Regions from separate parts of the Homo sapiens genome. Here regions 1, 2, 3, 4, 5 and 6 are each linked to region 7. Evidence: promoter capture Hi-C in 16 types of primary human blood cells and fetal thymus (Javierre and others, 2016). All regions are on one chromosome and are shown on one strand. Each heading gives the region's core, a stretch centred on a gene start or on the middle of the fragment in contact. The rest is flanking DNA. Distances are from core to core; before and after follow the strand shown.

Region 1 (3,663 bases), core at 560-3,059, 900 kb after region 7:
GTTATCATTAGCCATCTTTTGCATTTAACCATAATTAAGTCAGAATTTGGCTGGGGACAGTGGCTCGTGCTTGTAATCCCAGCACTTTGGGAAGCTGAGGCAGGCAAATCACCTGAGGTCAGGAGTACAAGACCAGCCTAGTCAACATGGTGAAATCCTGTCTCTACTAAAAATACAAAAATTAGCTGCGCATGGTGGTGCATGCCTGTAGTCCCAGATACTCAGGAGGCTGAGGCAGGAGAATCACTTGAACCTGGGAGGCAGAGGTGGCAGTGAGCCAAGATTGCACCACTGCACTCCAGCCTGCACGACAGAAAGAGACTCCATCTCAAAAAAAAAAAAAAGAGCACTGTTCACTGAATATGTGTTTCATACGCTGCTAGATGAGACCATGGAAGAAGCTGGAAGGAGGTCTGTTAAGCCATAGTGGCTTACTTAATGCAAATACTGATAAGAAAACTTTAAATAAAATTGAAGATCTGGGGTAAAAAGTAAAGTTAATAGGATGTGAGAAAAACAAGCATAAACCCAGGACTCTTTCAGGTAAACCAGGATATATGGTCACCCCAGAAAGATCAACATGAAACTATGGCTTTTACTCCAAATGAGATGGGAGTCATTTTGGGGTTTTGAGTAGAAGAATGACAGGGTCTGACTTTAGTTTTTAAAGGTGACCCTGGCTGCTTGAGAACAGACTGCAGTGGGGCAAAGGGCAGGAGACCACTTAGGAGCCTACAGCTATAATCTAACACTGAGAACAAAGACAATAGTTCCCTAGTAGAGAGATAAATTCGTATCGTTAAAATTGTGTATGTGTCTGGAGAAAAGAACAGTTAGGGCGTAAACTACCCCTGAGCTCAAATTTCAGGTCTGTGCTTCTGGCTATTTCATACAGGGAACAATGATGAATCAAAATATCATAGTACAAAATTACCAGCTATGAAGAGCATCTACTTAATTCATCTTACACTAATTCCATTCTCATCAAGCAACCTTTTAATTATAATGTACGTCCATATAGACTTATCCATAGGAAGAGAATGCATATATGAGTAAATATAGCTGTTTTACTTGATAGCTTTAACTGTAAATTTGATTTCTGAGTTTTGTTTTTTTTTTGTTTGTTTGTTTTTTGAGACAAGCTCTCATTCTGTCGCCCAGGCTGGGATGGAGTGGCGCAATCATAGCTCACTGCAGCCTCGACCACCTGGGCTTAAGCAATCCTCCTGCTTCAGCCACCTGAGTGGCGGGGACCATAGGCACGCACCACCACACCCTGCTCATTTTTTAATTTTTCGTAGAGATGGGGGTCTCACCATATGGCCCAGGCTGGTCTCAAACTCCTGGCTTCAAGTGATCCCCCCGCCTCAGCCTTCCAAAGTGCTGAAATTACAGGCCTGAGCCACTGCACCTGCCCTAGGTTTTTAAAATATATATATAATCACTTGTCAATTTGGTTAGTTTGAGTTGGTTCCCTAGAGCTTCATCATCTCTATATAAACTAATAATTGAATCTCCTAATCTATTCAGCAGAAAATAAGACCTGGGAAGTAGTGACCCTAAAAAGTCACCCTGAGAAGACTTGTCTATGCTGCCACCTGGCCTTCCTCAGGTGATCTCTGGCCTGAGTACCATTCCAGTCAAACTGCAACAGGCATCTCTGATGCCCCCACAGTAACATCAGAATATCCCCAGTGAATGCAATACTCTGCCTGTGACCATGTGCTCATTAGAAAAAATGTAGTTCTCGGCTGGGCGTGATGGCTCATGCCTGTAATCCCAGCAATTTGGGAGGCCAAGGCGGGTGAATCACCTCAGGTCAGGAGTTTGAGACCAGCCTGGCCAACATGACAAAACCCGTCTCTACTAAAAATACAAAAATTAGCTGGGCATGGTGGTGCGTGCCTGTAATCCTAGCTATTTGGGAGGCTGAAGCAGGAGAATCGCTTGAACCTGGGAGGTGAAGGTTGCAGTGAGCCGAGATTGTGCCACTGCACTCCAGCCTTGGAGACAGAGTGTGACTCTGTCTCAAAAAATAAAAAAAAAATAAAAAAAATAAAAAAAATAAAAAAAATTTAGTTCTCAAAAACTCATTCCTCTGTGATGATTTTCTCAATTCTCTTCCTCTTTCCAAAAACATCTTTAGATTAACATTGAGGCATTATTTTTTCTCTTTCTTGGATATATTATTCTCCTTTCATATTATTTTATGTGGGATTCTGTTAATTTTCAGAAATGCACTCAAACATCCATGTTTAAGGACTATAATAAATGAAAATTTACCGGCAAGGGACTTGTGTTATCCTGAATAGAAAGGATCTCCGAAGTCTCATCAAGGTTAGTCTCCTTTCTGGAATGCTGATCCAGGGGAAGAGGAGCTGGGTTGGAATATTCATCACTGTCCTGAAGGGTGGAGCGTTCCAGTTCCTCCAATAAGGCATCTACACCATAAGAAGCAAGAGAATCATGACAGAGAATATTTAAATCCCTACAGTCATTTTCTCCTTAAATATCTTCACTGTGCCCACATTCATCTCCTTTTCTTCAATTATGGCTATTTTCAAATACTTTCCCTTATTCCTTATTTCACTTCAAGAATGTGGTGAATCCTACCAAGAAATGTTTAACACCTCCATAAATTGTGGTTTGTTTCTTATTTTCTATGGTTGCATTCAATTTCATAGTCTCATGCTATAATTTGATTTTTTATACCACAGGTATTAATTTTCATCATTCATTTAGGGTAGATTCCCCACAAATATCCTTAATTAGAAAAAAATAAAACTGGGCTGGGTATAGTGGCTTATGCCCATAATCTTAGCACTTTGGAAGGCTGAGGCGGGAGGATCCCTTGAGCCTAGGAGTTCCAGACCAGGGCAACATAGCAAAATCCAGTCTGTATGAAAAATACAAAAAAGTCAGCCCAGCATGGTGATGCACACCTGTGGTCCCAGCTACTTGGGAGGCTGAGGTGGGAGGATCACCTGAGCCTAGGTGAGCCTGCGATGAGTCGAGATCACGCCACCACACTCCAGCAGCCTGGGCCAAAGGAGTGATACCCTGTCTCAAAAAATAAATAAATAAATAAATAAATAAATAAATAAATAAATCCTAAATGCTTTTTTCTATCAGAAAAATAGAAGCAATTATATTACCATTTTTCAAAACATACGAGGGAAATAACACTTATTCTTAATCCTAATGATATTTTTTCTTAAATCTTAACAATTATCCTGAGCACGTAACAAAATTTTCAAAGCAAGGTATAAGTATCCTGTCTTTTAGGGTGTGGAGAGAAAAAATGGTTGGGGATAAAACTGAGATATTGCAAAATCAAGTAAGATGTTGCAATTTAAATAGTTGGGATTTGTTACTCTTTCAGTTTTTTTTCTTTTTTTTTTTTTGGAAAAGTATTATATACTAGTATCTATCTGTTACAATGAAATAAATAATAATTAATAAAAATTAACACATGCCAGGCACTGTGCTCAGGAGTTTACACATTTCATTTAATCATCCTAACACTTTGAGGCAGATGATATTATTGTCCTTATTTTGTAGATCACAAGAAAGAGACAAAAATAATTTGCTTAAGCGCATGAATGCAGAACCAGGACTTGAATCTGGGCTATCTGATCCCTAGCCCCTGCATTAACTAAAAGT
Region 2 (3,784 bases), core at 480-2,979, 940 kb after region 7:
TCTGTGTTTGGACTTATTCCATGGTAGGCACTAATGTGAAATATGGGTGTTTTGGCCAAGGTTTTGAGATTTTATTGGAATCTTTTGTGTTGTGATTTATCTGTTAGTAGGTCTTTTAATATAGCAGATCACCAGACAGTATTACAAAGTCAGTTGTTTCTTAACTTTTAATGCCATTGAGTTGTCATCACCCTGTCTTTATCTAGGATTTATGTCTTTTTAGTTTCAATTATTATTCTTTGTGATAAAACAGCTAGATTTCAGTCCAATTAGGTCATTAGGATGAAAATGCTAGATGACTTTATCAGTGTTTGGCTACCTCTTAAAAAATTACCAAATAAAATCCCCTCAGACATGTTCGCTACAACCAGAATGTCTCATTTCTATTTACTTATTTTTAGTAGTGAAGAGGAAGAGGAGGAGGAAGAAGAGATGTTAATCAGTGAAGAGGAGATACCATTCAAAGATGATCCAAGAGATGAGACCTACAAACCCCACTTAGAAAGGCATGTCTCAGATTTTACTGCAGACATGTTAATGAAATATAAGTAGGAAAGCACTGTTGCATGCTTTTATTTTATCTGTTGCCAAGCTAATGGGTATAGAATTAATTTTAAATGAGTAATTAATTATGCACTTCTTTTGTAAGTCTAACACCTTAATATACCCTGATAATAATCCTCTTTCCCATTTGTAGAACTTTATTTTGATTATATACAAGTTTTTATGAGTCTGCATGTTTTATTTCAACAAGGTATCATGAATTGCCTGAATACTTAGAATTTTTTAACTAATTGTCTCGTTTCTCTTTACAATTATAGTGAAATTTGATTTACAGGCATCTTTAGTCTGGGGAGGGTTCATTCCATGAGCAACATATACATATATTTGGATCATTACTATGCATGTGAGGATGATTGGTAGGAAATCACATTTCATGAACTGAGGAAGGTAGTTTTATAACAAATCAGTGATAACTCTAAGCTTTAATTTGTTGTCATAGTCTTCCTTGAAAAGATCTTTTGTCTAGTATTGAAATGCATTTGTGTTTTCAGGGAAACCCCAAAGCCACGGAGAAAATCAGGGAAGGTAAAAGAAGAGAAGGAGAAGAAGGAAATTAAAGTGGAAGTAGAGGTGGAGGTGAAAGAAGAGGAGAATGAAATTAGAGAGGATGAGGAACCTCCAAGGAAGTGAGTAGGCAATTATTAAAAATGAAAATCTAACAGATTTTGAACGACTAGTGGAAAAAAGAGTGGGAGTGTGAGGAAGGATGTTGACGTATACATGCTTCAAAATATGTATTTTTTAACTTAAAAAAATTTGGCCTCAAGCAGCTGACAATTTCACTGGAGAGACTCTTAGTAAAAAAATGTTTAGGTTTTTCAGTTCTATTGCAAGGAGAAGGTATTTTTTAATCTTAGTGTTTTTAGATGATACATGGTAGCAACTCTAAAAGTAATACATTGAGATTCTTCTAAGTCTTTCATAGTATTGCATAGTTTATGGAAGGTATATATTTAATCTGTCTTACAGACTGATTTGAAAGTGAAATTACTTCAGGGTAAAATTACTTGCTTGATTTGCCAGATATATCTTTGACTTTATGTATTCTTGGTTATCCTTTGCCACTTGTTCTTTGGCCGTGTGTGTGTGTGTGTGTCTTCAGCCAGCCTTCACTGTGTAGTTTTGATTCAGAATATGTCTACTGTTACCCTGTCTTCAATTACAGGAGAGGAAGAAGACGAAAAGATGACAAAAGTCCACGTTTACCCAAAAGGAGGTGAGGAATTTTTACCCCTACTGTTTTACACCTTATTCCAGTACCAGGCACTTTACTCACAAATTTAGACTTCATGATAATCCTGCAGGAATGGCTATTTAAAAATTTCACAAAAGCAACTTCACTAATGTCCTAGATGCACAGGTGTTATGATCTTATTTTCATTGTAAGAGCTTGAAATTTCTAACAATCTTAATACTTTACCTTTGGGGGGTCATTAGTTTATTTGTGTTACTTTTTAATTCTGTCAAATATTTGCTAATTCTTGGTTACTTCTAATACAAATTCTGTGTAATCTGTATAGTAGTAAAGAGATTTTAATTCTTCCTACTATAAAATAGCTATTCCCAATAGCACAGTTTAAGTCAGAGGCCACTGTGCAGAGTACCACTTTTTTTTTTTTGCTAACTTTTCTTCTGCATTTTGATAATAGAAAAAAGCCTCCAATCCAGTATGTCCGTTGTGAGATGGAAGGATGTGGAACTGTCCTTGCCCATCCTCGCTATTTGCAGGTCAGTGAAGTTGTTATATAAGAGCCTTTCAGGTTGTGTTCCATTACTTGTTCTTGCACCACGAGACTTTAATTTGTTGGCTTGTGTAGGCTTTATCATTGACATGTAATGTCAAGAAAAGTCTTTCTTTAAACATAAAATGACTTTAACCCATTTATGCCTAGTGTTCCATTATTAGAATGCTAAGCTTGGGCAAGTTATTTATATCCTACTGTTCAAGGTCATCACCAAGGTCTGATTTTTCACAAAAATACATTTGCAACCTCCAGCATAAATGGGTTAATCATGATTAGTCCATTTGTGCTGCTATAATAGAGTACCTGAGACTGGGTAATTTACAAAGAACATATATTTATTTATTAGCTTGTGGTTCTGGAGACTGGAAAGTCCAAAAGCATGGTGCCCACATCTCACAAGAGCCTTTTAACTGTGTCAGCCCATGGTGGAAGGGCAAGAATGGGTTGAACTTGCTTTTGTAACAAATCTACTCCAATGATAATATCAACCCATTTATATAAGGGTAGAGCCTTTAAGACCTAAGCACCTCCCATTAGGTCCCGCCTTCCAACACTATCACATTGGGGATTAAGTTTCCAACACATGAACTGTGGTGAACACATCCAAATTCATAGCACCTCCTGTTTAAAAAGAGGTGACTAAGAATCTGAACCCACATAGAGAACTTTCGTTGGAATCTTTCAATATTACAGTAATTCCCAATGTGGTGTAAATACAGAGTAACATTTTATTTTAAAGTGATTTAGAAAAAAAGTAAAATTAGAACTCAAACCTGTGATTTCTTGGGTACTGTGTAGAATGAATAAAAGACTTTTAGTTGAGGTTTTGTTTTTATTTTTCTTGAGTAGATTATTATTATTATTTTTGATGAGTAAACGTACCACTTATATTTAGGTCTGGCAGGAAACGTGAAAGTGAAATACTGCTTAGGAAATACCTGTTTGATCTTCAGCAACAAATATAACATGACACGAAGGCCTTCTTCTGGATCGTGGTTCAGTTATAACAATAGCCGCTCCTCCTCTGCTGTGTGCCATTTGCTGCTCTAAAGCACAGTACAATACATAATCTCTTATCCCCATAACAACACTTTGAGATGGTTATTGTTACCTCCATTTTACAAATGAGAACTGGAGCTTGAAATATTTGTCTCCTAAGATTACAAAGGCTAGTGAATGACAGACCCAGATTGGAAACCAGGTCTGTGTATTTCCACCTATGTTCTTAGCCACTTTATTATACTCCCTCACTATCCATGTGTGAAATCTAAGTATTTGGTTTTCCTTCAGTACTTTTGACTTAGCAAAGACAAGTACTTTCAGGAAGCCTTAATTTTTTTTTTTTCGCCCCTTTCACTTTCTCTGTTTTAGCACCACATTAAATACCAGCATTTGCTGAAGAAGAAATATGTATGTCCCCATCCCTCCTGTGGACGACTCTTCAGGCTTCAGAAGCAACTTCTGCGACATGCCAA
Region 3 (3,840 bases), core at 469-2,968, 980 kb after region 7:
CTTGGTTTCAAATCAAATGTCCAATTAATCTCTTTTCCCTCTCTTTATTACACTTTATGCTTTCAAAACCTACACTATATTTATTTTTTGTTTTCTAATCTTATTTTTTACTGATGCTTTGTGTGTGTGATAACTTCATATATTCAAATAAGCTTTGAAGATCAAATTGGTGCAATTGGGATATCCATTACCTTAAACATTTATTTATGCTAGAAACATTTGAATTATTCTTTTCTCACTATTTTGAAATAAAGAATATATTATTGTATAGTCACCTCTCTGATGTATCAAGCACTGGGTCTTATTTCTTCTATCAAACTGTATATTTGTACCCATTAATCAACCTCTCTTCATTTTCCCTCCCTGCTTGTCTTCCCAACATCTGCTAAACACCAATCCACTCCCTATCATCATGAGATCCACTTTTTTTAGCTCCCACATATGAATAAGAATATGTGGTATTTATCTTTCTATGTTTGACTTATTTCACTTAACATAATGACCTCTAGTTCCATTCGTGTGGCTGCAAATGACAGAATTTTATTCTTTTTCATAGATGAATAATATTCCATTCTATATATATATATATATATATATATATATATATATATATATATATACCACATTTTCTTTATCCATTCATCCATTGATGGGAACTTAGGTTGATTCCATATTTTTGCTATTGTGAATAGCACGGATCTCTAGGGCAGGAGCAAAATGCTGCCAGTCTCTTTGCTAAAGCACAGCAAGAATCACCTTTGTTCCAATTCCCAGTAAGTTCCTCATTTCCATCTGAGACCGTCTCAGCCTGGACTTTGTTGTTTATATCACTATCAGCATTTTGGTCAAAATCATTCAACAAGCCTCTAGGAAGTTCCAAACTTTCCCACATCTTCCTATCTTCTTCTGAGCTCTCCAAACTGTTTCAATCTCTTCCTGTTACCCAGTTCCAAAGTTGCTTTCACATTTTTGGGTATCTTAATAGCAGTACTCCACTTTACCAGTACCAATTTACTGTATTAGTCCATTTTCATACTGCTATGAAGAAATACCAGAGACTGGGTAATTTATAAAGAAAAAGGGGCTTAATAGACTCACAGTTCCATGTGGCTGGGGAGAAATTCAAGCTGGCTTATTCACTATCATGAGACTTATTCACTATCATGAGAACAGCACAGGAAAAACCTGACCCCATAATTTAGTTACTTCTCACTGGGTCCCTCCCATGACACATGGGGATTATGGGAACTACAATTCAAGATGAGACTTGGGTGGGGACACAGCCAAACCATATCATTCCACTGCTGACCCCTTCCAAATCTCATGTCCTCACATTTCAAAACCAATCATGCCTTCTCAACAGTCCCCCGAAGTCTTAACTCATTTCAGCATTGACTCAAAAGTCCACAATCCAGTCTCATCTGAGACAAGGCAAGTCCCTTCCACTTATGAGCCTGTAAAATCAAAAGCAAGTCAGTTACTTTCCAGATACAGTGGGGTACAGGCATTGGGTAAATACACCCATTCCAAATGGGAGAAACTGGACAAAACAAAGGGGCCACAGGCCTCATGCAATTTTGAAATCCAATAGGAGAGTCATTGAAGTTCCAAAATGATCTCCTTTGACTACATGTCTCACATCCAGGTTGCACTGATGTAAGAAATAGGCTCCCATGGTCTTGGGCAGCTCCACCTCTGTGGTTTTGCAGGGTATAGCCCCTGATCCTGGCTGCTTTTACAGGCTGGCATGGAGTGTCTGCAGCTTTTCCAGGTGCACAGCGCAAGCTGTTAGTGGATCTACCATTCTGGGATCTGGAGAAGGATGGTGGTCCTCTTCTCACAGGTCTACTAGGCAGTACTCCAGTAGAGACTCTGTGTGGGGCCTCCAACCCCACATTTACATTCTGCACTGCCCCAGTAGAGGTTCTCCATGAGGGCTCTGCCCCTGTAGCACACCTCTGCCTGGACATCCAGGCATTTTCATACATCCTCTGAAATCTAGGGAGAGGTTCCCAAACCTCAGTTTTTAACTTCTGTGCACCCACAGGGCCAACACCATATGTAAGCTACCAAGGCTTGGGGCTTGCACCCTCTGAAGCAATGGCCAGAGCTGTACATTGGTTTTTTTAGCCACAGATGGGACACAGAGCACCAAGTCCTGAGACTGTACAAAGCAGAAAGGCCCAGGGCTTAGCACACAAGACCATTTTTTCCTCCTAGCTCTCCAGGCCTGTGATGGGAGGGGCTGCCATGAAGACTTCTGACATACCCTGGAGGCATTTTCCCCATTGTCTTGGCAATTAACATTTGGATCCTTGATACTTATGCAAATTTGCAAATTTCTGCAGCCAGCTTGAATTTCTCCTCAGAAAATGAGTTTTTCTTTTCTATCACATTGTCAGGCTGTAAATTTCCCAAACTTTTATGCTCAGCTTCCCTTTAAGACACAAGTTTCAATTTCAAACCATGTCTCTGTGAATGAATAAAACTCAATGCTTTTAAGAATACCCAAGTCACCTCTTGAATGCTTTGCTGCTTAGAAATTTCTTCTTTCTCTGGTGCCTCCTTGATTAGCTTAATAATCAATGTTCTGATTTCTTTTTCTGGCAATTCAGAGATTTCTTCTTGGTTTGGATCCATTGCTGGTGTGCTAGTGTTATATTTTGGGGGTGTTAAAGTACTTTGCTTTTTCATATTACCAGAATTGTTTTTCTGATTCCTTCTTATTTTGGTAGACTGTGTCAGAGGAATGCTATGGGGCTCAAGGATACTCTTCAGATTCTTTTGTCCCAAGGGGGTGATCCCTTGAAGCCCTTCCACTAGGGATGGGGCTTCCTGAGAGGTGGACTGCAGTGATTGTTATTGTTATTCTGGACCTAGCCACCTAGAAGAGCTACTGGGCTTCATGCTGGTACTGGGGAGTGTCTGCAACTTGTCCTGTGATGTGATCTGTCTTCAGGTCTCTCAGCTGTGGATACCAGCACCTGCTCTGGTGGAGGTAGCTGGGGAGCGAGGTGGACTCTGTGTGGGACCTTGATTATAGTTTTATTTAGTGCACTGTTTGTTTGAAATGCTAGTTAATGTAGCAGTGAAGTTGTCACATGGACAGACTCAGGACCTCTGGTTAGCCAGGATGTTACAGGTGATAGAATTAGCTGTTGTTTTCTCCTTTCTTAGAGCAGGGTTGTTCTTTTTTGAGTTTCTGTAATGGCTTGAGTTTGTTGGCCTCCAACCAGGAGGTGGTGCTTTCAAGAGAGCTTCAGCTGCAGTGGTATAGAGAGAATACAAGCTTGCCCTAAGGTATTCAGATTTCTTGGGTGATGGGTGGGGCCACAGAGCTCCCAAAAGATTATGACTTTTGTCTTTAGCTACCATAGTGGTTAGTGAAAGACCATCAGGTGGGGGCAGTGTTAGGCCTGTCTGAGCTCAGACTCTCTTTGGCTGGGGATTGCTGCAGCTGCTGTGGGGGATGAAGGTGTGGTTCTCAGGCCAATGGGGTTATGTTCCCAGGGGGATTATGGCTGCCTCTGCTGCATCATACAGGTCACCAGGGAAATGGGGGAAAGCCAGCAGTGACAGGCCTCACACTGCTTACATGCAGCCAAAAAGGCCAGTCTCACTCCCACCATGCCCTACCAAGAGCACCAAGTTTATATCCAGGCAGCCGGTGAGCATGGCTGAGATCTTGCCCCAGGCTACAAGCCTCCCCACTGAGAAAGCAGATGTGGCTTTCATGCTTTACCCCTTCCCACCTGCTGTGGCTTCTGTACTCATATCTGCACTTCCTATTCACCCCCTATCCCCTAGATTCTGCCCAGGAAAATTCATGTTCGGCTGAAA
Region 4 (3,479 bases), core at 254-2,753, 960 kb after region 7:
AGCTTGGCTTAAGCTCTCATGAGTTGCATGTAAAGGAATATGTATGTATAAGAGGCGGATTTGAAGTGGCAGAGGGTCCACAAAAGGCACAAGTACTAACCACTGAATGGGAGGAGATAGAAAAATGTGTAAGTCACAATTAAGTCACAGAATCACCAAGTCTTTACCAAGTGCATTGTCAGCACTTTGCAAAACGCTGTGTACTTGTCTTTCAGGAAGCATACAATATGCACCCAAAAGAAGTGTGGGGAAAGCTAATCTTAGAAAAAGATAAAGGGGAAATGAGCAGTAGACCATGCAACAAAAATCAACATGTATGAGATCTGAATGTGTAGACATTGCATCATGTTTATTTGAAATGGATAAATAGAAAAAGGGACTGAATGGATTAGTATTCTAGATGTGTGCCTTATAGTAAAGAAGAGGATAACGATGACACTATGGAATTACGTTTTTTTAGGAATATAGAACCCCAAGAAGATTTTGTTCATTAGGTTTTATTCTGTTGATCTGATATGGATAAGATCTCTGGGAAATCATATATGGTATAACTATATAGATTGAATTATAGTTTAAGGTACATAGATTTAGTTTCTAGCCCTAACTCATTTTGTAAAAACAATTTCTTCTGCCTCCTTTTCAGAGAGTACCTTCTGAAAAGTCCTCTGTGGGTAAAGAGATCTTGTTTTCCTGAGTCAAGGAATTGCATGGATGAGAGTTTTTCTTGCATTCATGTAAGAGGGTGATTTGGAAAAGGCTCGCAAATCAGCACAAACTTGAAAGCCAAGCATGGAATAAAATTAGCCTTAAGATAATCAGGTTTAAGTGAAGGGAGAGTTTTAATAAAAATGGAAAATGTAAAGTCATAGCTCTGGTATTGCTGTTATTTCAAGCTGCTATGGATCAATGCCCAAAGGATGACTCATTGTTGTGATCACTTGTCAGACAGGGAGAGGACTAGTAAATATTTCAGGAAGACATATCTGAAAAGTTATTTAGATTGAATTTTGTTTGTGAATCCTCAGCTCCTCATGAGGTACCTGAGCATCTCTGTTAAGGGGTGAAATAGAGACACGGGAAGCAGAGAGACCTCCACCAGGATGTAAAGGGGATTGGTAAAGAGGAAGGGGGTAGGGGGGAGTAGAATTTTGATTTCACTTCAGTTGATTCTGTGTGTGTGTGTGTGTGTGTGTGTGTGTGTGTGTGTGTGCGCGCGCGCGCGTGTGTGACTAATGTACTGTTAATGTACTGTTTAGGTCAGGACATTTCTTAAAAGGAATGCTTTGGCCTCCTGCCTCATCCCACCTCCACTGCAAGCGTCAGACCCACCCAAGAATGAGCTCTCTGAATGTGGGTGCATTCAAAAGCGAAAAATGATAAAAACTTCATTTCTTGGCTTCTGTAGCCCTCTGAGAACTACAGATAAAGACAGAATAAGATAATTTGATGGTTTGATGAAGTGTCTGGGTGTGAGATAAAATCTATGTGCTTATGATTCTTAATATAAAAGATTATTTCGATCAATCTGGTTTGAACACATAGAAAACAAAAGATGCAAGAATAGCTAACAATAAAGTTCTTTTCTCAGCAATACCATAAGTTACTTCTTTTCTGTATCTTTGGATGAATGAGGGGAATTTCAAGTGACTTCAGCATTGGATGAAGCATAATCCTCCTAGCCAGGGCCAGGCCCAATCAAGCGTGCTGAGTAAATCTCCATGGTGCCAGGCCACTCACACTGGGCAAAACTCCCAGGGCCAGTCAGCCTAGAAAAGGTAGATTGCCCCTATATCACCAGGCCAATGCTTTGCCCTCTGAATACGTAGTCCTATCAGCTAGACTGCAGATGAGAATGATTTCCTTTTATATGGCTTAATTGCAAGTAGCTGACCACCCCCCCCCCCCCATTAAGCCTTTGACTTCAAGAGAAGAACCCTGACTAGCCCATTTTTAGTCAGGTTGGAGGTAGAAACCAAATTGTTGAAAATCACATAGAGGAAAATATGAAACAGTTACTGAGAGATTCTGTATTTCTATCCACATATTTAAGGTAGTATGAAAGGGAATAATGTAACATGTCAGGCAGCTCTGCATTATTTTATATTATTTAATCCTCTGACATATCTCTTAGATGAGGAAAATGAGAATGAGCATTAACTTGCCCAAATTTCCTCCTCTAGCACCTGACAGGGCTGGAGTCTTAATTCTGGCTCTAAAGCTCACTTCACTACATCTTGTGCCATAGGACATCTGGTAATCAAAATTCTCTTATTCTGAAATCCATTCTCTGTCTCTAATCCACTCTCCTTGGCTAAAGCCAATACAGGCTTGTACAGAATTTTGCTTTGTAACGAAGTCTATATAAGTTTCTAAACTTTCAGACAAGTCACTCTTTTTTCTGAGCTTCCTCATTTGTGAAATGAAAATGATGAAAAATAGCTAACTACACAGTTGTTATAGACAAATTGAGTATCTGAAATTACTTGTAACTGACATGCAGACATCATCAGGTATATTTAATGCCTCAGGTAGCTTGGATTCAGAGTTGATTGAGGAGCAAGCTCCTAAGTATCTCAGAGAATACCACCTGCTTACCAGGAATGATCTGGCCACAGCCTCAACTTCACCCTATTGTGCCTATTGGCCTTTGGCCACTGGAGGTTGACCCAGCAGTCTCACTCACAGCCTCCAGGAATCATCCACTTCCCTGGAGAGTTACAACCCAGGCCATTCACCCAGGAGGCAGCTTTCACGGTAGGCATGGTCAGACAAGTCCTGGAGAAGCCTGGTAGGCTCCAGAGGGAGCCAAGGAAACATGCCGTCTAAGGAGCTGCCCAGGATACATTAAAGCATGCGTTTAGACTTAGAATCATCCCACCGTACGCCTACACCCTCCTGTTAATACCAGAAGGAACTCAAACTTCATTTAGTTCAATCCCTTCGTTAAACATAACATGAAGAAGCCAAAGAGGTTCAGCAATTTGCCCTGACATCCCAGCTAAAAAGTGGCAGAATGAGACCTACAGTCCATGGATCCCCTGGCTGCACTTTCCTGCTTCTCCATCAAACCAACCTCATTTTAGGAAACATCTGGTCTTTCTTGCTCTCTTGTATGCAGCGCCCTCTAGCTCCCTCAACTCTAATAATCCTTTAGAAGCTCTAGGAACAGCACCTCATCCAGACTTCTTTTGCCACTCCAACCCCCACCTCTACTATAATTTGAGGGTGCTATATTTCATCCTTCCCCTGATATGATGGGGGAAAGATGTGGCCCATTCTGAGGAATGCATTCTGAGTAATGGCTAAATATGTTACTCATTTCAGGGTAAGTGTCGTTTGAACAAGGCACTCAGGGAAGCTTTTTAAAAATAATATTCTGGGCCGGGCATGGTGGCTCACACCTGTAATCCCAGCACTTTGGGAGGCCAAGGTGGGTGGATCACGAGGTCAGGAGTTTGAGACCAGCCTGACCAACATGG
Region 5 (3,660 bases), core at 115-2,614, 930 kb after region 7:
TCAACATGAGATTTGAAGAGGACAAACATCCAAACTATATCACACTGCACGGTGACCACAGTTAATAATAATGTATTACATATTTCACAGTTGCTAAGTTGGTGTGTGTTCTATTGTTTTGAATGAAACTCTAAGTTTATCTGTCTGTCCCCAGCAGCCACCAGATGCTCAGAGAGCACCAGCAGGTGATGAAACTGCATGGGTCCCCTTATCAACACTGTATACTTAGGCTACAATAAATTTATACACAAATATTTTTCTCTGCTCTTTCCTTTTCTTAAACGTGTTCTCAATATTAGTGCTACGCTTGTATATGTCTTTCATGCCCCAGAAAAAGTGATATGAACAGAACAAGATTGTACTGTGGTTGTTTTTAATATATTTTTTAATGCAAAACTGCTGCTGGAAGAGAGAAATCAATGAATAAGCCAGATGTTGGGGATAGCCAAAAACAACACATTTCATAAATATTGAAAATGATCCATTTTATATGAACCAAGCTAAATCTAGACAATAATAGTTTGTTTTTATGTGCTGACAATTCCCAATTTTATGTTTGTAGCCCGCCCTGTCCTTTGAACTTTAGGCCTGTTGATGTTTTACTCAGCAGTAATCTCAGACTTGGTCAAAGCAGAACACATATTCTCTCTAGTGTCTCTTCAAGAAACAAAAAACCCTGATCTTTTTCTTTGTTTTCATCATCAGTCCAATTGTTCAAGTCAGAAATCTAGAATCCCAAATCCTTGGCATCTCCCTCTATCCCTGTTAAGTTATTCTCTAGTCCTGTCTCGTCTGTTTCCTAAGTATTTCTTATATCTCTAATTCTTTCCATATTCAGTGGTATTACCCTCTTTAAAGCCATTATTATCTGTTGCCTGGCATATTGGAGTAGGTTTTTAGCTGGTTACCTAGCATCTACTCTTGCCCCTACCTAGCTCATTGTCTAGCCTGCAGCCAACATGAACATTAAAAATGCAAATCTGATCATGTCACCGTTCTGTTTAAACTCTGTCTGTGGCTATTAGGATAAGATTCAAAATCCTGGAAGGACCTTGTTAGACTTTTTTATGCCTCCTCGGCATGATAAATGATGGGTTTTGTCATGTTTTCTCTGCTGCAGTCATGTTTATCTTCTTTCTTTCAATTCTCAAGACATGTACATGTACTCGTTTCTCCTGCCCCTTCTTTATCAGCTAGCTACCACTTATTTATTCTTCAGAGTTCACCATATTTATTTAAACTTAAATGTTGAGCTAATTCTTAGCTATAGAGATCATTAAGTTAATAAGCACTAGTTTTAAGAGCTGTGTTTTCAGAGAAACCATCCTTTCACCTTCTCAAACTTATGTCTGAGCAAAGTCTTAATGTTTTTAAGAAGCAGAACTAATTCACCTAATGCCTATACTTTGAACTTTGATGACATTACTTTGTGATTCTATTTTTGTTTTGCTCCAAAATTTTAATATCTGCAGAAATTCTGTGAAAGCCTAATATTTTTTATCCTTTCTGTCAGTGCACCAGTGGCTGATGTCTGCTTTGAAATCAGTAAGCCAGGAAAAAACATATGTAGATGGAGTAAACAGAGATGACTAGAATAAGAAAGAAAAATCTAGGCATTAATACACAGTGTTGATTTAAAAATGAGTAAACTGTTTTGGAATGTAAACATTCTAAATTTCTTAAATACAATTTTAAAATCTCATTTATTTTCCGGTTTTTAATCACAATAAAATTTCTCTAGTTCTGTTTTGAAACATAAGGAAATACAGCATGTGGCTTTAGGTTAAAAATTCACTCATGGAATAATTCTTACAGGTGTTTCAGGTTAGTATATTATATAAATGGGGCCCTCTTGGCACTTGAATCCAAGGCTGGGTGGAAATGAGCCAAATCTGGATTGAGCCCTTGCCGTGGTGCTTTCCATTTCTCGTTTATATGGTTAGGTGTGGTATAGTAGAAAGAATATAGACTGGACTTAGATATACCCGTGTTCAGTTCCCTCAGCAGCTTTTAATATGTGCACTTGGGAAAGTCAGTTACTTGGTTTCTTCATCTATGAAGATAAGAATAATAAATACTTGATAGGGTTATAACTGATTTTTGAGAAATGAAAAAAATATATATTACCTAGCAGTTAATACTTAAGATTTGTTAATTGCCCAGAAGAAATTTAAATACTTAAAGAGAGATTTGAAGACCTTTACCTTTAGTATCTTCCCAGCTTATCAACTAACCACACCCTGTTTCACCCTACAATAAAATAATAGCATTGATTATGTTAGAATGGCCCTTCTAACTTAAAGTATTTTATCATGACCAAGTGGCTCTCATCTTTTGGAATTTGATGGTTTGACTTGTTATAATAATTATCTCTGGCTGTAGGATTGAGATAAATCATATTTCATTGTCTGCTATCTAGAAGAATTAGAAGAAAACATTCCTGCCAGTAGTATCAATCTTTTTTTTTTTTTTTTTGGTTTTGAGACGGGGTCGTACTTTGTTGCCCAGGCTGGAATGCAGTGGTGCGATCTCAACTCACTGCAACCTCTGCCTCCTGGGTTCAAGCAGTTCTCTTGTCTTGACCTCCTGAGTAGCTGGGACTGGTGTGCGCCACCACCGGCCTGGCTAATTTTTGTATTTTTAGTAGAGACAGGGTTTCATCATGTTGGCGAGGCTGGTCTGGAACTCCTGACCTCAAGTGACCTACCCATCTCCACCTCCCAAAGTGCTGGGTATAGGCTTGAGCCAGCACGCCTGGCCTAGCATTAATCTCTTATTGTCTCAACTCATAGTATAAACCACTCTTACTTCATACCTTCTTTCAAGAATGTACAGTTGGCCCTTGAACAACATGGTAGGGTTAGGGGCACCACCTCCCCCTCACAAACAAAAACCTGCATTTAACTTCCCAGAAACTTTACTAATAGCCTGCTGTTGACCAGAAGCTTTATCAATAACATAAAGTCAACTAATTCATATTTTATATGTGTATTATATCCTGTATTCTTACAGTAAAATAATCTGGAGAGAAGAAAATTTATTTAAAAAAACCATAAGGAAGAGAATATATTTACTATTCATTAAGTGTAAGTGGATCGTTATAAGGTCTTTGTCCTCTTCTTCACATTGAGTAGGCTAAGGAGGAGGAAGAAGAAGAATCGTTACTCTTATCTCAGGGGGTGACAGAGGTAGAAGGAGTGGCAGGAACATTTGGCGTAGCTTTACAGAAATACAATTTCTGCCTGACTTCTTTTTTGCTTTTTCGTTTCTCTACAAATGTTTCTACACTTTAACCATTTGCTTTAGTTTCAGGGCAGATATCATAGAAGGGTTCCTGTCATAAAAGGAAGTCAAAAGCAGTCTTGAATAATTGGAACCTTTCTGCCAGAATTTCTAAGTTTTTAATGTTAGTTTGTTTTCTGGCATTGCTGCTTATATGTTGTCTTTCTGATCGTCTGGCCCCTGTTCAAAAGCACTCATCTTCATCATGTCATCTTGTTACTTCCTCTTGTGTGGTGTCTGTTTGCACCTGAATTTATCCAAGATGCTTATTTTTAAAGGCTTCACCATCACCACCCCACCACCACCTTTTTTTTTTTTTTGCCATATTCACAATCTCTTTCATGATTTCCTTGATTGGCTCTGCCATAAATCCTGTGA
Region 6 (3,950 bases), core at 474-2,973, 880 kb after region 7:
AATTTAACAACAATCCTAGACAAGTTAGACCTTCCTGCCTTCTATTCTCATCTCCATCCTCCCTAGTGTTTCAACCCTAGAGCAGGCAGGTGTCAAGGCTGGCAATAAGGGTGAGGGTGGTAGATAACAAAGCGAGGTCAGGAGAGAGGAAAGGCCATACCCCTGTCCTCGCCTCCTGCAGCTTGAAGGTCCTAAAAAAGAGAGGGAGTGGCTGTCACTTTTAAAGTGCTGGAAGCCTTAACTATTACACAGACTGAATTACCTAATGGCTTAGTTTTTGTGTTTTGTTTCTTAAATTGATTTTATATTTAGAACTGTTTTTTAACAGTAATCAGAAAAGACAGAGGACTGCACAAGCTTTTATTTATGAGAGGAGAAATCCTTCCCCACTGAGTTCATTCTAAAAGGACAGGAGAAAAACAAAGTAAAGCAGCTTTCTGATTCCATATTTGTTCAAAACAAACATAAAAAGGAGAAATTAAAAAAAACAAGACAATTCAGAAAACACATGAAACAAACATACAAAGGGGGAAGAATGGGTCATGTAGAAAGGATCAAGGATAAAAAAAATTTAATAAAAACTTGCCAATCATGGAAGCTAGAAGACAGTGAAGCAATGTCTTCAGAATTATGAAGGAAAATAGTTTCCACTTAGAATTCTATGCCCAGGCAACTTAAGGGCAATGACAGAATAAAAATATTTTCAGATATTCAAGTTCTCAAAAATTCTTTCTCAGAAAGCTACTAGGGGATGTTCCCCACCAAAATAAAGGTGGTAACATGTATAAAACATAGACATGGGACCCAGGAAACAGAGCATCCAAAGAGGAAACTAATAAAAGGAATTTCCAAGAGTAATTACTAGATATAATTCTAAGTTAATGAACCAGAATGACTGCTACTCAGCAGGAAGAAATCATTTCATGTTGAATCAGGAGGAGGAAAGTCTCCTGGAGGGATATCTCCAGAAAAAAAAAAAAGAAAAGAAAGAAACTGACTTGTTGCCAGATGTAGTTGGCCATTTTGAAAAGAATTTCACAGTTCTGTTGCATAACTTAGTGATAAGTACAATAAAAACTAAGCCAATTTCAAAAAGGATTCAAATGTTAACTTTAGAAAAAAATGAATTTATACCAAAAGGACACTGTGATAATAATATTAACACTACTATACCTCCATGTGCTTGGCACTATTCTAAATACCACGCTTGTATTGTCTCTAAATCCTCATAACAACCCTATAAGGTAGGCAATTTCATTAGGACTATTTTACTGATGAGGAAAGTAAGGTACAGAGATGTTAAATGACTTGAACAAATACCACAACCCAGATTTGAACCTGGAAGTCTGACTCTAAAATCCAGACTCTAGTGTAGTCAGTTTGCTACATGGCTTACTTGTGAGCAGTATTCTATGATTGTCAACATATGCACACTTAATACTGATCTAACCTGTAATTATGACATAATTATATATTGAAAAAACAGGGGAGGGGAAATATGTTAGGAGTGAGTGGGGTAATAATAACATTTCTAAACCTCATCTTCCCTCTTAGACAGTCAATACATAATGGTTAAAACTGGAAAAATAAAACAATCTATAACAATATAAAGTTATTATTTAAAACACATAAGCAGGCCAGGCGCAGTAGTTCATGCCTGTAATGCCAGCACTTTGGGAGGCCAAGGCGGGCGGATCACGAGGTCAGGAGTTCAAGACCAGCCTGGCCAATATGGTGAAACATTGTCCCTACTAAAAATACAAAAATTAACCGGGTGTGGTGGCAAGTGCCTGTAGTCCCAGCTACTTGGGAGGCTGAGGCAGGAGAATCGCTTGAACCCAGGAGGTGGAGGTTGCAGTGGGCGGAGATCGCACCAGAGATCGCACCACTGCACTCCAGCCTGGGCAACACAGTGAGACTCCGTCTCAAAAAAACAAACAACAACAACAACAAAAAATAAGTAAATATCAGAAGAAACAGCTAAAATAATTTGGAGAGGAGAACTGGATTTGGAGATGAGAAAGGGACTTTTTCAATATTCAACAAGAAAAGGCTTTTTCAATATTACCCTTGAAGTAATATTTGAGTTTTTAAACTATGCATTTGTATTTCTGTGATTTAAAAAATCAATTTAAAGGGAAATTATAAATGTTGGAGAAAGGTAGGGAGGGATGGTATCTAGTACTGAAATGGGCACTTTGATAGTACTGATAGGAACCAGGACTCCCGTGACTACCAGGAAAGGTGTTGCTGGTCTTATAACTACCCACTGGGGTGTGGGATACAGCCTCTCAAGTCGGGTCATACCTTCTGCACCAAACACCTCTCCGCAGTGAGAGCAGAAGAAGTGCTCTGGGTGCCAGGTCTGGTTCATTGCTGTCAGCACTTTCTGGAAAGGGAACACACAGATATTATAATGATGCAGAAGTTGTAAAGCATGACTCTGGTTCTAAGTGAGTGACTGAAAGCTGGAGAGGAGCGGGGATTTACTTACATCCAGGATGGGAGCAGCGCAGTAAGCACAGCGTGGAGAAAAAAGTTGGTGGTAGTCGTTGGGGCAGTAGGCCAAGCCACTCCGCTCAAAGAAGGGACTGGAGCCAATCTCTTCTTTGCAATGAGTACAGACAAAATGCTCAGGATGCCATGATTGCCCTAGAGCATGGATCACCTGTGGAGTGAAATAAAGCCTGACACAGGAGGCCAGTTGAGTGCTCTACAGCCTACAGGTTGCACAACTCTAGGGAGCACTCTTCACATTGTACCCCTTGTAGACAACACGCCCTGGAATTATACAACACTGAGGCCTAGACCTAGGTTCCACCTAAGGCCATCTGTGGTCTGTGCTTTATGGATTGATAATAAAAGGATGCCCACTTCCGGGACTGATCACTGTGATGAAAGCCTGTAAATGTTCACAACCACTGCACTGCCACAGGGGGTGGCAGAAACAACATATAGCACATTGATGACAGAGAAGTTGTAACTGTAGCCTTAGTGTGGAAGGGACCCCTGGAAGAGGAAAAGGCCAAATGACAGTTTTTATTCCTCTAGTTTGAACACTTTATTCCACGCCCCATGCAGTCAGGTCTCAAAGCTTTTTATCATAGCTTCGGTGAAGGACGATGCAGAACAGGAGTTTGCAGCTGTGACTTGGAGCTGAGTTCAGCTGAAAATTGTAATCAATCAATTTAGACTGGGAATGTGTGAACAAAGGGAGCAGTGAGAAAGGTCATCTCAGTAAAGGCAGTACAGAAAAATGGTCAAGAACTCAAACTCAGGAGACAGTCTCCTGGTTTCAGATCTTACCTCTACCTCTTATTATGCCTTGGATATGTCCATTAATGTCTCTGAGTCCTCAGTTTCCTCATCTTTACAAAGGGAGCAATCATTCTTCTTGAAGGGCTGATGTGACCATTAAATGAGGAAATACTTGTAAAGCACTTAGCTCAGTGGCCAGAGCACTGTAAGTGATTAGTAATTATTAATGCTAACTAAAATATCTTAAAATATAAGGGGAAAGAGCAAACCTTGATGAGACAGAGAGAGACAAAGAAGGCTGTAGGACCAAAATTTCAGCCCATCTCACCTTCCCAGCAATCGGTTTCTGGCAGGATGCACAATGGCCCTTGGGCACTGTGGCAATGCCAAGGTCCTGCAATTCCTGCTCCAGACCCCCAAGCATTGAGTCCAGGGAGGCCTTGTGATCCTGCTTGTCTGGTAAGTGCTTCTTGCCAGCATCTGCTCTCACTGCAACCTGGCCCAAGGGAAGAACCAAGAACAGAATCAGCCTCATTTTTATTCTCATTGGCATCTTCTAATGACTCTATAAATTCACCTCTACTGACTGATCTCTTGGCCTTTCCCCAACCTTCCTGCAAGACATTGGAAAAATCTAAAATTTCAACACCAATAAAAATCTTTTCATCTCCCTTTCATCCTAAACTCCTCAG
Region 7 (3,484 bases), core at 379-2,878:
AGGCCAGGTCTGTTTTAAAAATATAAAGTCGTTATAAAGAACTCTCAAGTGTGTTGCAATAAATGCTGGATTGACGCTGTTAACAAGAATAAACTAGAACTTATAATATATGCCATGTCAGAGAAGGAACTAGATTCCAGAAAACAGAAGGTAGTTCTCTTTTACCTTACTGCCTAATGCTAGTGTCAGAACCACAGTAAAGCCAGCAACATTTGAGACCAAACCCGAGGACAGTCCTCAGGATTTTACAGGTGAGGGGCCTCGGCTTCAGGGAAGTGGCTTGTGAAACACCTTTTTGAGGGACCATTATGTAATAGCTAGAGTTGCTTTCGAAAAAAGAAATAGCCTCGAGCCGAATGGGGAGAGAACATGGGGCATTGCTATTGGGTTCACAGCTGTCTTGGGCTAATCAGGGCAAAGCGTAGCACTATGACCTATGCAGAGTTAGCTCGCCAGGGACAGTAGCTATTCTAGAGAACCTTTTGCTTTTAGCTTTGTATTCTAGGATTGGGTGAGGTGAGGGATGCGGGCGCCCATCCCACGTGTGACAGTGGGAAACTAATGGAATTCAGGGAGTTCACTTCCCGGCTCGCACTCCGGGGGCGGGAGGGTGCTGCCACCGCCTCAGGTCGCGCGCTCCTTAGGCTTCCCTCTCACGGTTAGCGCTACGGCTCCAAGGCTGGCGCCTGCTCTTCTTCATCTCCCTCCCCGGCCCTTGGCAGGAGCCTCGCCCTACATTGGCTCTTCAAGTCCGGGCGTCCCCTTCATGTGGGAGACACAGCCCAGACCATTCCATCGCCCTGGATTCTGCCCGGACCAGCGACCTCGCCGGACTGAAGATTTCTCCAGCAAGATTGTTTTAAATAAAGTTTTTGCCATCAAAAAAAAAAAAAAAAAAAAAAAAGGAGATGGGAAGGAGAAGAGGGAGGCCTAGTCGCCAAATGGTTGGCCAATCCGCCGCGAAGGGGCTGAAGCAGGAAGCGGCGATAGTCGTCGGTAATTGGCTGCGCTGGAAGCCTGTCTGGACTGTACCACCTCAGTAGGAGAGGGGTTGCTGAATTCGAGAAGGTAGCTGCTTGCTTTTGAGTACTTCTAGTACACACACATAATTCTTTTCTTATTTCCGGGGGTTTTTGCTTGGATTCAGTGGGAATACAACAGGACGCAGGAGAAGGGAAGACTCGCCTGGCCATTTCCTCATTCCTGACTCCTGTGCATTAGGCCAATCCTTGTCTCTTAGTTGTCCCCGCAACCCCACGGCCTTACGTGCGCGCTCTCGTCTTCTCGCGTGCGTACGTCGTTGTGTTGCTGCAGCCAATCAGGCCGCGAGGTCGCCGCGGTCGCCAGGGTTCGCGCGCACGCCCCAGATCGGAGTCGGGGTGGGGGCTATGGGTGAATGGGAGAGTGAGCGGGGTTGGGCGCGGCAGCGCGAGCCGCATGAATGAGACAAACGTGCGCCGCGCGAGACGTCGCGCGAGCCCGGACTAGGGAGCCAATGGGAACGCTGGAAGGGTTCGAGACCCGGCACTGAGGGCAACGGCCGCGCGCCGGCTCCGAGACGAGCGACGCCTGGCGGGAGCGCGCGGCAGCGGGGCGGGCGTGGAGCGTGCGGGGGCCGCGCGCTGCTTCTCTGAGGCAGGACGGCACTGCCGGGAGGCGGCGGTGACAACGACGGCGGTGGTGACGGGCACCGGGCTCGCGGGTGAGTGCGGAGGACACCGGTCCCTGCGGAACCGGAAGTGCCGTACCAGCGAGGTGGGAGGGGAGGGTGACCTCTAGGGAAGGGGGACCGAAGACGGGGAGGGTATTAAGGCCCTATTTCTCCTCCGGGCCGGGTCTTCCAACCGCGGCGGGACCCATGGGCCTTGGAAACGGACGACGAGTAGAGGCCGGGGATCCACGACCGCCAGGGCTCGGAACGGGTTAGAGACGGCCACTCAGCTCGAGACCGCGGTCCCCGGTGCCTGGCGCCCAGCCGCCGCCCCTTCCGCCCCCGGCCCTGCGCCCTCGGGCTCTGCGGTCCCCGCAGCCCGCTCTCTCAACCTCGGTGGGCCTGGCCGCCGTGGATTCCTTCTTTTCGGTTTCAGCGGTCGTCAGCCCTGCCCCAACGGGTGATTCTCCTTTCCCCAGTCCCGTGGTGGGGACCGGGTGCTGTTTCCCTTTTACCGCTCTGCGGTTCGAGTCCCTCGCTCCACTCTGCTGATACTTATTTTGGCTCAAGCTTCATCCTGTTACCTGTTCTCTCTCACCCGTCCGCTTCCTCCTCCTACCGCCACCAGCCGAGTGCTCCATGCGTTTAGTACTTTGTACTTTTTAAAGTGGAGCCCGAATGCGTTTGTCAATATTTTACCTATATTTGGGGCAGGCAGGTGGAAAGTGTTTTACCCACTTGGCCAAATGAAACACTGAAATAAGAAGTAAGAAAGTTGCTAAAAGTTAGGAAGGCAGTTGTAGGATCACATATACGTTATACGCTAGACTATTTTTTGCCTTGGATTCTTCACTTCCTGGTTAATGCCATCTTGACCAAGTTGATCTAACATTTGCATATCATCCTTCTATCTCAGTATACCTCTGTCCTGGATCAAATATCTTCAGAATGCTCATTATCACCCATTGTATAAACTTAATGTTTACAAAATTATATTGCCATGTATTTTGCTACCTCGGTATATAATGATAACACCCACATTAAACTTCTTGGCTCTTTCTCCCATACCTTGACATGTGAATTATTCCATGGTACCTCCATTACTGTGCATTTAGATTTACTCTATTGTACTGTTACACCGCTTATTTCAACAAAAAATAGTTGTGTTGTCCTTGGTACTGCTGGTATCCACCTATTTAAGGAAATACCTGTATTAAACCTTATTAAAGCCTTCAAACCACATATCCTGTATTGTTTGTTTTACATATACATATTTCCATTTCATAGTTTACTCTGTGCCTCAATATGGCATACATATTACTTTTTTTCTCATTTTTGAGACGGAGTCTGGCTCTGTCGCCCAGGCTGGAGTGCAGTGGCTGCTATCTTGGCTCACTGCAACTTCCACCTCCCGGGTTCAAGCGATTCTCGTGTCTCAGCCTCCCTAGTAGCTGGGATTTCAGGCATGCCCCATCACGCCCTGCTCATTTGTTTGTATTTTTAGTAGAGACAGGGTTTTGGTATGTTGGCCAGGCTGGTCTCGAACTCCTGACCTCAAATGATCCGCCCGCCTCGGCCTCCCAAAGTGCTGGGATTACAGGCGTGAGCCCCCGTGCCCAGCTGGCATACATATTCTTGTATACTTTTTTGATACTAGTATGGATTCAAACTGTTGACTCTGATGAACCATACTCACCCTTGTGGTTTCATCCTAGTATCTGCAGCACATTCTTTTGCTAAGAATTGGTTCATCTTTATTTATACCCAATAAATTGTTAGGTTTTTGATTTCCCTTCTACTGTGTAGCCCCCAAGCATCTCAGATGCTGTTCTC

The links. The method cuts DNA at HindIII sites, captures the fragments that hold promoters and counts their contacts. A CHiCAGO score of 5 or more calls a contact.
Region 1: a contact is called between a fragment that was not itself captured here and the fragment with the promoter of ZDHHC5 in region 7, in 13 of 17 cell types (naive CD8 T cells, total CD8 T cells, naive CD4 T cells and 10 more). The highest score is 22.0, in naive CD8 T cells.
Region 2: a contact is called between a fragment that was not itself captured here and the fragment with the promoter of ZDHHC5 in region 7, in 8 of 17 cell types (naive CD4 T cells, naive CD8 T cells, total CD8 T cells and 5 more). The highest score is 13.3, in naive CD4 T cells.
Region 3: a contact is called between a fragment that was not itself captured here and the fragment with the promoter of ZDHHC5 in region 7, in 1 of 17 cell types (naive CD8 T cells). The highest score is 5.0, in naive CD8 T cells.
Region 4: a fragment that was not itself captured here is called in contact with the fragment with the promoter of ZDHHC5 in region 7 in 7 of 17 cell types (naive CD8 T cells, total CD4 T cells, naive CD4 T cells and 4 more); the score reaches 15.0 in naive CD8 T cells.
Region 5: a fragment that was not itself captured here is called in contact with the fragment with the promoter of ZDHHC5 in region 7 in 3 of 17 cell types (total CD4 T cells, naive CD4 T cells and activated CD4 T cells); the score reaches 8.5 in total CD4 T cells.
Region 6: a contact is called between a fragment that was not itself captured here and the fragment with the promoter of ZDHHC5 in region 7, in 9 of 17 cell types (non-activated CD4 T cells, total CD4 T cells, naive CD8 T cells and 6 more). The highest score is 12.9, in non-activated CD4 T cells.

What each region holds. Positions count from the first base shown.
Region 1 is chr11:58,568,273-58,571,935 of GRCh38, forward strand. LPXN (leupaxin) reads right to left here. Exons shown (of 9, transcript NM_004811.3): 2 at 2,284-2,441. Among named protein-coding and RNA genes, the nearest start is that of LPXN, 5.8 kb to the right of the region's middle. The HindIII fragment of the contact is 6,686 bases long and covers 1-3,663 here.
Region 2 is chr11:58,610,549-58,614,332 of GRCh38, forward strand. It overlaps ZFP91 (ZFP91 zinc finger protein, atypical E3 ubiquitin ligase), which reads left to right. Exons shown (of 11, transcript NM_053023.5): 5 at 402-506; 6 at 1,056-1,190; 7 at 1,730-1,780; 8 at 2,214-2,292; 9 at 3,681-3,784. It overlaps ZFP91-CNTF (ZFP91-CNTF readthrough (NMD candidate)), which reads left to right. Exons shown (of 13, transcript NR_024091.1): 5 at 402-506; 6 at 1,056-1,190; 7 at 1,730-1,780; 8 at 2,214-2,292; 9 at 3,681-3,784. Among named protein-coding and RNA genes, the nearest start is that of CNTF, 10 kb to the right of the region's middle. The HindIII fragment of the contact is 1,495 bases long and covers 983-2,477 here.
Region 3 is chr11:58,643,849-58,647,688 of GRCh38, forward strand. No RefSeq gene overlaps it. Among named protein-coding and RNA genes, the nearest start is that of CNTF, 23 kb to the left of the region's middle. The HindIII fragment of the contact is 3,137 bases long and covers 151-3,287 here.
Region 4 is chr11:58,626,937-58,630,415 of GRCh38, forward strand. No RefSeq gene overlaps it. Among named protein-coding and RNA genes, the nearest start is that of CNTF, 6.0 kb to the left of the region's middle. The HindIII fragment of the contact is 3,706 bases long and covers 1-3,356 here.
Region 5 is chr11:58,593,115-58,596,774 of GRCh38, forward strand. The region is part of intron 2 of ZFP91 (ZFP91 zinc finger protein, atypical E3 ubiquitin ligase); the gene reads left to right. All of the region lies in intron 2 of ZFP91-CNTF (ZFP91-CNTF readthrough (NMD candidate)), which reads left to right. Among named protein-coding and RNA genes, the nearest start is that of ZFP91-CNTF, 16 kb to the left of the region's middle. The HindIII fragment of the contact is 3,157 bases long and covers 1-2,943 here.
Region 6 is chr11:58,547,479-58,551,428 of GRCh38, forward strand. LPXN (leupaxin) reads right to left here. Exons shown (of 9, transcript NM_004811.3): 5 at 3,587-3,754; 6 at 2,495-2,668; 7 at 2,308-2,389. Among named protein-coding and RNA genes, the nearest start is that of LPXN, 26 kb to the right of the region's middle. The HindIII fragment of the contact is 2,737 bases long and covers 356-3,092 here.
Region 7 is chr11:57,666,486-57,669,969 of GRCh38, forward strand. ZDHHC5 (zDHHC palmitoyltransferase 5) reads left to right here and starts at 1,629. Exons shown (of 12, transcript NM_015457.3): 1 at 1,629-1,702. RefSeq lists enhancers at 681-1,260, 1,430-2,069, 2,070-2,707, 2,261-2,330 and silencers at 1,461-1,700, 1,951-2,150. The HindIII fragment of the contact is 3,116 bases long and covers 1-2,219 here.